2 separate regions of the Homo sapiens genome follow, and region 2 is linked to region 1. The links are contacts of gene promoters, found by promoter capture Hi-C in human tissues and cell types (Jung and others, 2019). All regions are on one chromosome and are shown on one strand. The core of a region is centred on a gene start or on the middle of the fragment in contact, and the rest is flanking DNA. Distances in the headings are between cores, read along the strand shown.

Region 1 (4,741 bases), core at 888-3,387:
TTTCTGCTCCCACTTTGAGGGCAGGGGGATGGCAGGCAGCTCAATTGGTTTGGCTAAGTAAGTAGATTCAAACAAATCTCTTTATTCTTATGGATGTCATGCCCTGCAGTGGGAGAAAGAAGCTGAATCTTCTAGATGTCACCCACATGAGGGACTGGACTCCCCATCACCCAGTGCCTGACATACACACAACTTTATTCTGAGACAACAGCTATAGACCACAGCTACATTTACAGGCACCTGGCCCCCAGCCAGTGCCCAGGCCCTGAGGCTCCCAAGGACACAGCTTCAGATTAGAGCCTTCACCTAGGTCAGAAACCATCCTCATGGGTTCCTGGGCCTGTCCTCATTCTGGTCTCTCGCAGGCCACACATACACAGCAGGATATGTGGAGCCCACAGGCTCTCGGTCAGTCAGGCAAGATGAGTGGGGAGCACGCCCTTGCTGACTGCAGGCTATTTTCCAGGTGGTCAGAACCCTGAGTCCTCCAAACAACAGCTCCTTCCCCGAGGCCTGGGTGGAGCCTCTGTCCCTGCTGGATGACCCAAGCCCAGCCAGGCCGCAGCCCCAGCCCCTGGGGAGGCACGCAAGGATTTTTCCTTCTCAAGTTTCAGGTTTTGATGGAGAACAGATGTGCACACATCTGGCTCGGCAACCCCCAGCCTCACCTTTCTACTTCTCCAAACCGTCAGACAGAGCAGGGAGATAAGGGATGGGGCCAGGCCTGGGAACAACAGGGGAGAACTGGCTCTGGGTCCTACACAGGCAAGACATCCTGGCAGGAGGTGGGGGACACAGAAGGGGCCCAGCTCCTCCACCAGGGTGCCCAGACTAAACCCCGGTAGAATGGACCCAGGCAAAGCAGCTGTGGCTGGGTTCTCAGGCCACCCTGGGGCGGGCTGCCTTCCTGCTCCCACCCTCACCTGGGCTGGCCTGAGCACTTCTGCTAAAGGGAATAGGCTCTCCTCATCCTCTGAGACCATCCAAAGACAACAAGGGTGCTTGTTTCCTCAGTGACTTCTCACCAGGCTTTCTCCCTTTGGTTCTCTGCCTTCCCCGAATCCCCCAGCCTGCCCAGAGAACTTGACACTTGGAAACACCACACCCAAATGCTCACCACAGAGACCAATAACCCCTTGAAGGGAGGTCTGCTTGCCTCAACTGCTCTCAGCAGCTTCTCCATCCTGGCTATGGGCCAGAATCACCCAGGGAGCCATCCCTGCAGATCTGAATCATCTGTATTTTTAACACGTCACACATCATACCTAAGGTGACCAGCCTTAGGTGTCTTAACAGCAGGGTGAGGGATGTTGTTCTCATGTAACAGAGGCAGAGACTGAATGAACCCCAGAGAGGCTGTGACTTGCCCAAGGTCACACAGCAAATGAGTGGCAGAGCCAGACCTAGCAGCCCCTGCCCAGGAGCTGCTCCCTGGCCAGTTGCAACCTCTGCCATCACCCCATTCTGATGGCTGACAGAGTGAGGTGGGGTGGTTCCACACTTACCCCTCTGGCTGGAGCTCCTCGCCCCCCTGGGGCTCATCGATGTACCAGCTGCCATAGGAGTAGTCCTCTGTGGCCCCGGGGGAGGTCTGGTTCCCTGCTGGCTGGGACGACATTCTCTGGCCCTTCTCCTTTGACCCCAGGCGAGAGAAAAAAAAAGCCACTACAGATGTGAAAAGAGGCTTAAAAGAGAAAAAAAAAGAAAGAAAGACGGAAAACCCAAACAAAGAAACATTTCTCTTTAATCCTGAAGGTTACTTTCTTACTTTTAGCTCTCTGGGAAAAGCCCGTCTGGGACTGAGGGCCTGAGCAAGCTGGCACGGGAAGAGGACAGGGCCTCTCGTGTCCCCTCCTCCCTTCCCGCCCATCGCACTGGTCCTGCAGAGATAGCTGTCCCCTTGGGGCCCCGGGGCTCCCGCTGGCGCATCTGTCTGACCAACCACCAGCAGGCGTGTGTTCAAAGGACCATTTTCAAAGAAGGCTTGTCCAGTCTGAGCTGCCTAAAGAGACGCCCCTTCCTTCCCCTTTCCCAAGCCCACCTAGACAGACCCACAGACACACCAGAAGGGAGGCCCAGGGAGGAAGGAGTTGCAGAGATGAAAGGGTAGGCAGCCCACGGCCAGCTCCGCACTGCCTGCCTGGGCCCTCCCAGCTGGGCTCCCTTGAGCCCCTCCCCCAGCCTCAGCCTGCCCCTTTCTGGCCCCTTTGGGCCTCGGTGATGGAAATACACCATAATCCTTGACAAAGCCCCCCTCCTGGGGGAGGAGGCCCCAGCACCATTGGCGGCCTGAGCCCTGCAAGGGTGTGGCCAGGAGCCACCCCCACCCCCGCACCTGACTTCACACACATACCTGCCTTCAGCGCCTGCCCCAGAGCTCCCAAGCCCCTGCCCGCCACATCTGCAGTGCCGCACACAGACAGGAGACCAGCATTACAGCAACAACCGAGTGAGACGGACCGCTGGGGCTGGGCTGGGGCGGAGGCAGGGAAGGGGAATCTGTCCGTTTCTTCTCCTAGGGTTTCCATGAAGGAGGCAACATGTGTCTCATTGGTAAACCCTTTTTGTTCCTACAAGTTGATTTCACAAGGAGATAACTCACCCCCACAAGGCGGAAATTAGCTCTTTAAACACAAACCAGACCCACGGGTAGGCAAGAGGAGCCCCGCCTGCCTCCTGCTCCTCCTGGAGTGAGGTTGAGGGTGAGCAAGGGAAGGTCTGGGCCAGGGAGGAGGGCTCCTCCGCATTCTCCCTCCCCAGGAGCAGGACCCTGCCCCAGCCTGGAGGAAGGGGCGAGAGGCAGAAGAAGGTAGAAAGCAGTTCTCAGGCCACTGTCCCTGGTGGAGGTTTAGGCCCCTAAAACTGTGAGGGTCTCTGTCCTTCCAATACCCTACAAGGGGCTTCGGCTTGGACCCTGTCAGCTAAGGCAGTCATTCAACAGCTTTTTTAAGAAGACATTATTCATTTAGTCTTTTAACTTAAATTTATTGAACACACACTATGTGCCAGCACTGTTCTGAGCCCTGAGGCAGGAGAGATGACAGTTCAGCGGGGACACAGCCAGATAACTAAATCCCCTCCAAAGTCTGAGGGTTACAAAGGGAATCACAGGTTGAGCTGGTCTGTACCATGGGAAACCAAATTTAGTCCAAGAGCATTTGGGGATGGGGGGAGATTCCTGAAGAAAAGAACCTTTCCGTGGTGATCTGAAGGGCAGGGGAAAGTCCGCTGAGCAGAGGGTGGCAGGCTCAGGATGGGGATGGGGGTGGGGGAAAGTGTGTTCCCCACAGAGGAAACAGCACGGGTGAAGTCTCAGAGTAGACAGGGCTTGAAATCCTGGAGGCTCTCTTTCAAATTCCCAAGCCTGCAGGGCAGGATTAGGGGCTGAGCACCCTGCTAGCCTGAGTTCCTCCCCCTTCTTCCCAAATGGCCCTTCTTGCAGGAAGAGGGCTCTGTTGCTCTCCACCATCCCACAGAGATATCAGCATCTGCTGACTCAGAGCTGAACCCGAGCTTTATTTGATGTAATGAGGAGCCCACACTGGCCCTTCTGATCCCAGGGATGCGGGAAACTTGCCTTCCAGGCGCGAGTGTGAGCTCCCGGAGGGCGGGACTCTATCCCTCCCACCCCTCCTCCTGCCTTCCCCTGATGCTCAGCGCCTGGCCCTTGGGTAAGAGGGACTTCAGAAATTGAGCTTGGCAAAGCCATTGCTTGTTCTGGCGGCCAGTATTCATTTGTGGGCCTGTCCTATACAGGCGGCTGCTGTGCCCTGAGGTTCACCAGCTGGGCTTCCCAGAGTCCCCGTGCCCACACCAGAGGCCAGCAAGCCCTTCCCTGCTCAGGGGTCTCAGACTGTTACCTTAGGGAGCAGCCAACTCCCATCTGATTTTAAATCCACCTCCAACCATTGGAGTCCAGTTCCAGACAGGGAGCCCACTCCCTCTACAAGGCAGCAGTGTCAGGGGTTAGACATCCTTGCCTATCAGAAACCATGCCCTTTGGCCAGGTGTGGTGGCTTACACTTGTAATCCTAGCACTTTGGGAGGCCGAGGCAGGTGGATCACCTGAGGTCAGGAGTTAGAGACCCAGCCTGGCCAACAAGGCAAAATCCCATCTCTACTAAAAATACAAAAAATTAGCCGGACGTGGTGGCGCACACCTGTAATCCCAGCTACTAGGGAGGCTGAGGCAGGAGAATCGCTTGAACCCAGGGGGCAGAGGTTGCAGTGAGCCAAGATCGTGCCACTGCACTCCAGCCTGGACAAAAGAGGCAAACTCCATCTCAAAAAAAAAGAAAGAAAGAAAGAAAAGAAACCATCCTCTTCCTTGGAGGAAGCCTAACTCTGCCTTCCCCAGGCTGGTTTGGCAGCGAGCAAGATGAGTCAAGGCCTGCACCAAATGGAACCTGATGTATGGTAGGGCTTAGGGGAGACAACACCAGAGGGGAAGTGAAGTGGGGGAAGAGAAGAGAGACGGGAGTTGGCTGTTTGAGACAAGGTGGTCAGGGAAGGCCTCACTGAGAAGGTGGTGTGTTGCTGATACCAGAGGGGAGAGAGGGAGGTACCAGTTGGGCACTGTGTTCATCTGTTTCGCATTGCTGTGAAGGAAAACCTGACTCTGGGTAACTTAGAAGGAAAGGGGGTTTATGTGGCTCACAGTTCTGCAGGCTGTGCAGGAAGCAGCACGGCACCAGCATCAGCTTCTGGGGAGGGCCTCAGGAAACCCACAATCGTGATGGAA
Region 2 (4,741 bases), core at 636-3,135, 57 kb after region 1:
AATCCCAGGGGAGCTTGGCTAAGGCCAGAGGTGTGAGGGCTGGGGCTCTTCCCTCCTGCCTGCCTGGCTTCAGAAGACACTGATTGTGGCCACGGCAAAAAGGGGCCTTGAGAGGGACTCGGGGGAGAACCACAGCCTCCCTCTCCTGACTCCCCCAACCCATGCTCCGAAGTCAGCACCTGCATCAGCCAAACAGCCCCCCTCAAGCCTCACCTTCTCTCCTCTAAGTGGAAAGATCCTCCAATCTATCTGTTCAAGCCCTGCCTTCTCCAGGTTTAGGGTCAGAAACACAGGAACCCAGACTTTGGCCACCCCATTCAGATGACTGTCTCTGCAGAAGCCAACTCCACACCTCCTGTTGCATAAGACTGGGCTCCTGGATTGGGAAGAGGTCACTGGGTTTTTCAGAGCTTCCAGGAGTGGAGGCAGGCCTAGCCTATGGCCTGGGAGTCTGGCAGCCTCTTGGACTTCTGGAGGATGGGGGAGGCAGGCCTCCCTGGCTCAGAAGTTGGCATGGAGGAAGCAGGTTGAGGAGAATTGCCCTACCTTCTCAGGAAAGATTGAGACCCAACCATTACACCTTGACAGCTGGCCTGCAGGACTGCCAGTTCCCTCACCTCCCTCTCAGTTTCCCAGGTGAGCCAGCAATGGGTTGTGATGGGCCAGGTCAAAGGTGCCCAATACCTCCTATTCCACCATCCATCCACTTAAAGGTCTGCTCCTTATCCACTATTCCCAGTGCCTGCCTGACTTCCCCAGTGCCAGGGGCTTCTGGGAACATCACTCTAGTCTCTCAGGATTTACAAGCCTGCCCAGCCAAGACCCCAGCAGCCACAGCAGATCTGAGTCAGGGCCCTCCCCTTTCCTTTGCTCTCTTGGTGGCTGTCCTGGGATTGGCACTCAAAACAAACCAGGCCGCCTGTGCCCCAGCTTCTAAAGCTCTGCCCAGGAGGCGGCCAGGTCTTGACTATTGTTCATGATTTGAGGCTTTGAGGGAGCCAGAGGCCAACAGGACAGGCAGGGCAGGTGGGGGAGGTGGGCTCAGGTGTGAATAGAAGACCCCAGAGGCAGCCTGAGGACTGGGTAACAAGAGTGGGTACAGTATGGTACTCACACCTCTCTGGGCAGCCTTTGTGCACGTGCATGTGTGCATGTATGTGTGTGTGCATGCATTTGTGCGCATGTGTGTGCATGTGTGTGTATGTATGTGTGGATGTGTGTGTGTGTCTCCTGGAGTGAGGGGGAAAGCGGCTCATGAGCACTCTTGCTTTCTGTCCATCAAATCCCATGCTTTTCCGATGCTCATTTCTTCCACTCACAGCTGCAGCCCCCGGGAACCAGATGACATATTTTCCCTTAGTCATGACCTTGCAGAAGGAAAGCAAAGTCCTTGTTCCCTCCCACTCACAGCTGTGCTTGAGCCTGGCCCCCTTACACCCTGCTGGGGTGGGGGCCCCAGGAATGCCTAGCTGGGGACTGGAGTTTGTCAAAGACACACACACCCTTCCAGCAGCCTGGAGGGTAGGCCAGGTTGAGGGAGGTTTATGTTTTCCTGCAGCTTGGTCTCAGGGCTGCTGCACTCTAAACCCAACTCCAGTCCTATCCTGGCATGGCTGCCCATGCTGTGGCTGGATTAAATCTGGCCCCGAGACAGCAGGCACCACCCACTAGCTCCTCCTGGCCCTGGATGCCTGGAGCCAACGGGTCCAAGTCAACAGGGCAGGTCTTTGGGGGGACAGGGAGGGGGGTCTCTCCTTGCAGACAGCCTGTGGAGAGGCCTAGGGAAGCAGGTCTTGGTGAGGTCCCCTGGGTTCTAAGACTGCATTGGGAGCCCCGAGAGAGCCTGGGGACCTGGAACTCAGCCACGTGCCCATCTGCGGGGTGCAGAATGGGGCTGGGAGCAGGGAGTGAGCTCATCCCCTGCTCCTATTCTGTGAAGAATCAGAGGCCCTTCTTGCTCTCCAGATTCTAGAATAGCATCAAGACCCGGAGGAGTCAGCTGTGCCAGGAAAAGCCATTACCCCGAGAGCCTCCCTCCACCTGCTAAAAGCCTCCCCCTTCCCCTGGGGCCTCCCCCTCCCACCCAGTTGCTTTATCTGCACTCACCTAGCCCTGATGACCTTCATATTAGATGGGGCAGGGAGGTGGGGAAAATAGTTGCTTAACTCTTTCTCTGCTGGAGGAAAGTCAGCACCTGCTCCCTTGCCTTGCCCCGTCACCTTTACCCACCTCTTTGCACCTGGGAATTCCTCCTGCCACCCTCCCAGGAGGGTTGGGAGGATACGAGGACAGTAGAAGACAGGCTGGCATGGGGTTCAATCTGAATCCTGTCACTATGTTGCCTGTGACTTCACACCTTCATTTGTGTCTTCTCTGTGCACACAGAGCCACATGAAGATCCCTGGGAATCCCCCAGGAATGTGTCCATGCAGGTGCAGTTTTGTGTCCAGCTCTGGGGTTGACATCTGGGTGCAGAAGGACTGACTTCTTCCTGACACACCCTTGGCGCTTCTGCTTTTCTGCTGTTTCTGTGCAGGTCCCTGAGGAGGGAGGCTGTGAGGCCTTATTGTGCACTAACTATATATCTATAAGTAGCAGATCGGGTGGCTGGGTAGCACAGGGAGGCTGCTGAGAGCCTGAGGTCTCTGACTTTGCTGGGGCAGCTGTCAGGAGCGGGAGCCTAGGCACAGAGCGTCATGGGAGGTACTTAGATTGCACCCCTTGGTCAAGCATGGTCACAGAGCCGGAGGGAAAAAGGGACCCGAGGGTGGAGGGAGCAAGCTGAGCGCCACGTTCCTGCCAGGCTTCTGCCTTCCCTCTCTAGCCTGGCAGCCTCCCACACACCACTTTGCGGGTGTGAGGAGTCCATTCTGCAGAGCCTGCAGGGGTGTGTCTGGATGGACGCTCATCTGAGAAGGACTCCGGCTCTCTGGGAGATGCCCCTTCTCACCCCAGCTTGTACTCAGTGCTCCTTCCCCTTCATGCTGCCCTCAGGCAGGTCCTCTTGCAAAAACACCCAAGCTGTTTTGTATCACAAATGAGGGAATAACATGAACTGGGGCTTTCTGGATGCCAGGAGCTGAACATGCTTTCTTTCCAGTCCTTATAACACTCTCTCAGGGCGGTACTATTGAAAAAGGAGGAACTTAGTAGGTGCAGAGGGGAGATGATCTCGCCAGGATAAACGCGGGCTCCAAACCCAGCTCTGAATCATTCCCAAGCCTGTGCTCTTTCCAGGATTCCACACCTTGGCCCGAGCAGCCAGACATTCCCAATTGTAGACCCAGAACTGGGGGCATGATGGGGAAAAATCACGCCACGGCAAAGGGGCTGGTCACAGGAGGGTCAATAAGGCTAAGCTCTCTGGTGCTATGGGGTAATAACAGGAATCATATTTATATTTTAATAATTTAAGGTACTAAGAATTATTAACACTTTCTTGGTACTTAGCAATGTGCCAGGCACTACACATATTCATTCGTTTCCTTCCCACAACCGCCCTGCAGGCTGGGCACCGTTAGCATCTCTGTTTTATAGATGAAGAAAATAAGGCACCACAGGTTCTGTACCTTGCCTAACATCACACAGCTGGCACGGGGTAGAGCTGGGATTTGGAACCCAAAATGCCCAGCTGCAGGGTCCTTCTTACAATCACTGTGTCATACTGCCTCAGTCAAAGCACAGCAGGAGTCCTCAGTTGACCCCTGGAACTTGGAGATGGAACTCCTGCAAGCATGGTCACCCACAGAAGAAGGGCTCCTGCAAGCATGGTTACCCACAGGAGCAGGGCTGTGATGAGTGGGAGCAAGGAGCCAGGTCACAGCGTCACTTAAGTCTAAAGGGCAGAGGGAACAGTGAGGGCCGGGGGACTCCAGAGGGCTTCTTGGAGGAGAGGAACAAGCTGGGCTGGGAAGAACCATGTTGGTATTGCTAATGCACAGAGAAGGTGGGGTCTGAGCCAACTGGCCTGCCCCACACTCCCTTTGGGGTCCTTGAGGGTGAAACAAGGGCTGGTGGGGATGACGTCTTTGTTCCCATCCTGGGGTACCATTAGTGCGTCTTGCCTCCCTCCGCAAGGTGTGTGGTGTGGCTCCCCCTGCTACAGGATCTCTGGGATGATTCCTCAGCCCATGACTGCTGCAGTTAATGGAGCAGCGCTGGGGATGGCCCTGGCCTAGTAACCTCTTCTACAGAAGAAGTATTCACTCTCTCCCTGAGCCGTTTGACGGCTCTGGATCTCCGATATCTGTGGGGTGCACTGGGATGCAGAGGGCCCAAGCTTACCTCTCACCTTATACAGCCTGGTCCTGAACAATCTGAGTGCTTGAGGGCTGGAAAGCCCTTTCCACCACCCCCTGCCCCCAGGCCTGGACCCAGCTCCAGGTTTCCAGCTCCAGGGGCCCAGCCCAAGGCCCTGCACACAGCAGGCATCTCAGAAGGCAGCAGGATGTGCGTGCTTCATTGCAAGCATTTAGAACTGGGATTGCCGGGTGGAGCCTGGAAATCTGGGCCAGAAGTTTAGGGAAATAAGGTGAAGAAGAGAGGACAGCCAGGCGGGGCATCGCACAGCCACTCTGCCCAGAGGATTCCTCCCACCGAAACAGAACCTAGAGAAGAGGGAGGCCATGCACACGGGCTCCTGCTGGAGAGCCCTCCCTGGCAAGGGCTAGGAAGTCAGGCGGGCAAAGCATCTACCCTCTACCCCCATCCCTACCCCTGCCCTGAGCCTCTCTAAGTGAGA

What was found. Contacts are between HindIII fragments. The study calls those that stand out against the background at their distance.
Region 2: a fragment that was not itself captured here is called in contact with the fragment with the promoter of STRA6 in region 1 in 1 of the 25 tissues and cell types used here (dorsolateral prefrontal cortex).

What each region holds. Positions count from the first base shown.
Region 1 is chr15:74,200,650-74,205,390 of GRCh38, forward strand. STRA6 (signaling receptor and transporter of retinol STRA6) reads right to left here and starts at 2,138. Exons shown (of 19, transcript NM_022369.4): 1 at 2,064-2,138; 2 at 1,506-1,633. The coding sequence starts at 1,618. It also overlaps a transcript of CCDC33 not described here. RefSeq lists enhancers at 1-506, 2,299-2,468, 2,410-3,043, 4,529-4,741. The HindIII fragment of the contact is 11,640 bases long and covers 808-4,741 here.
Region 2 is chr15:74,257,467-74,262,207 of GRCh38, forward strand. All of the region lies in intron 2 of CCDC33 (coiled-coil domain containing 33), which reads left to right. Among named protein-coding and RNA genes, the nearest start is that of CCDC33, 24 kb to the left of the region's middle. The HindIII fragment of the contact is 5,844 bases long and covers 1-4,741 here.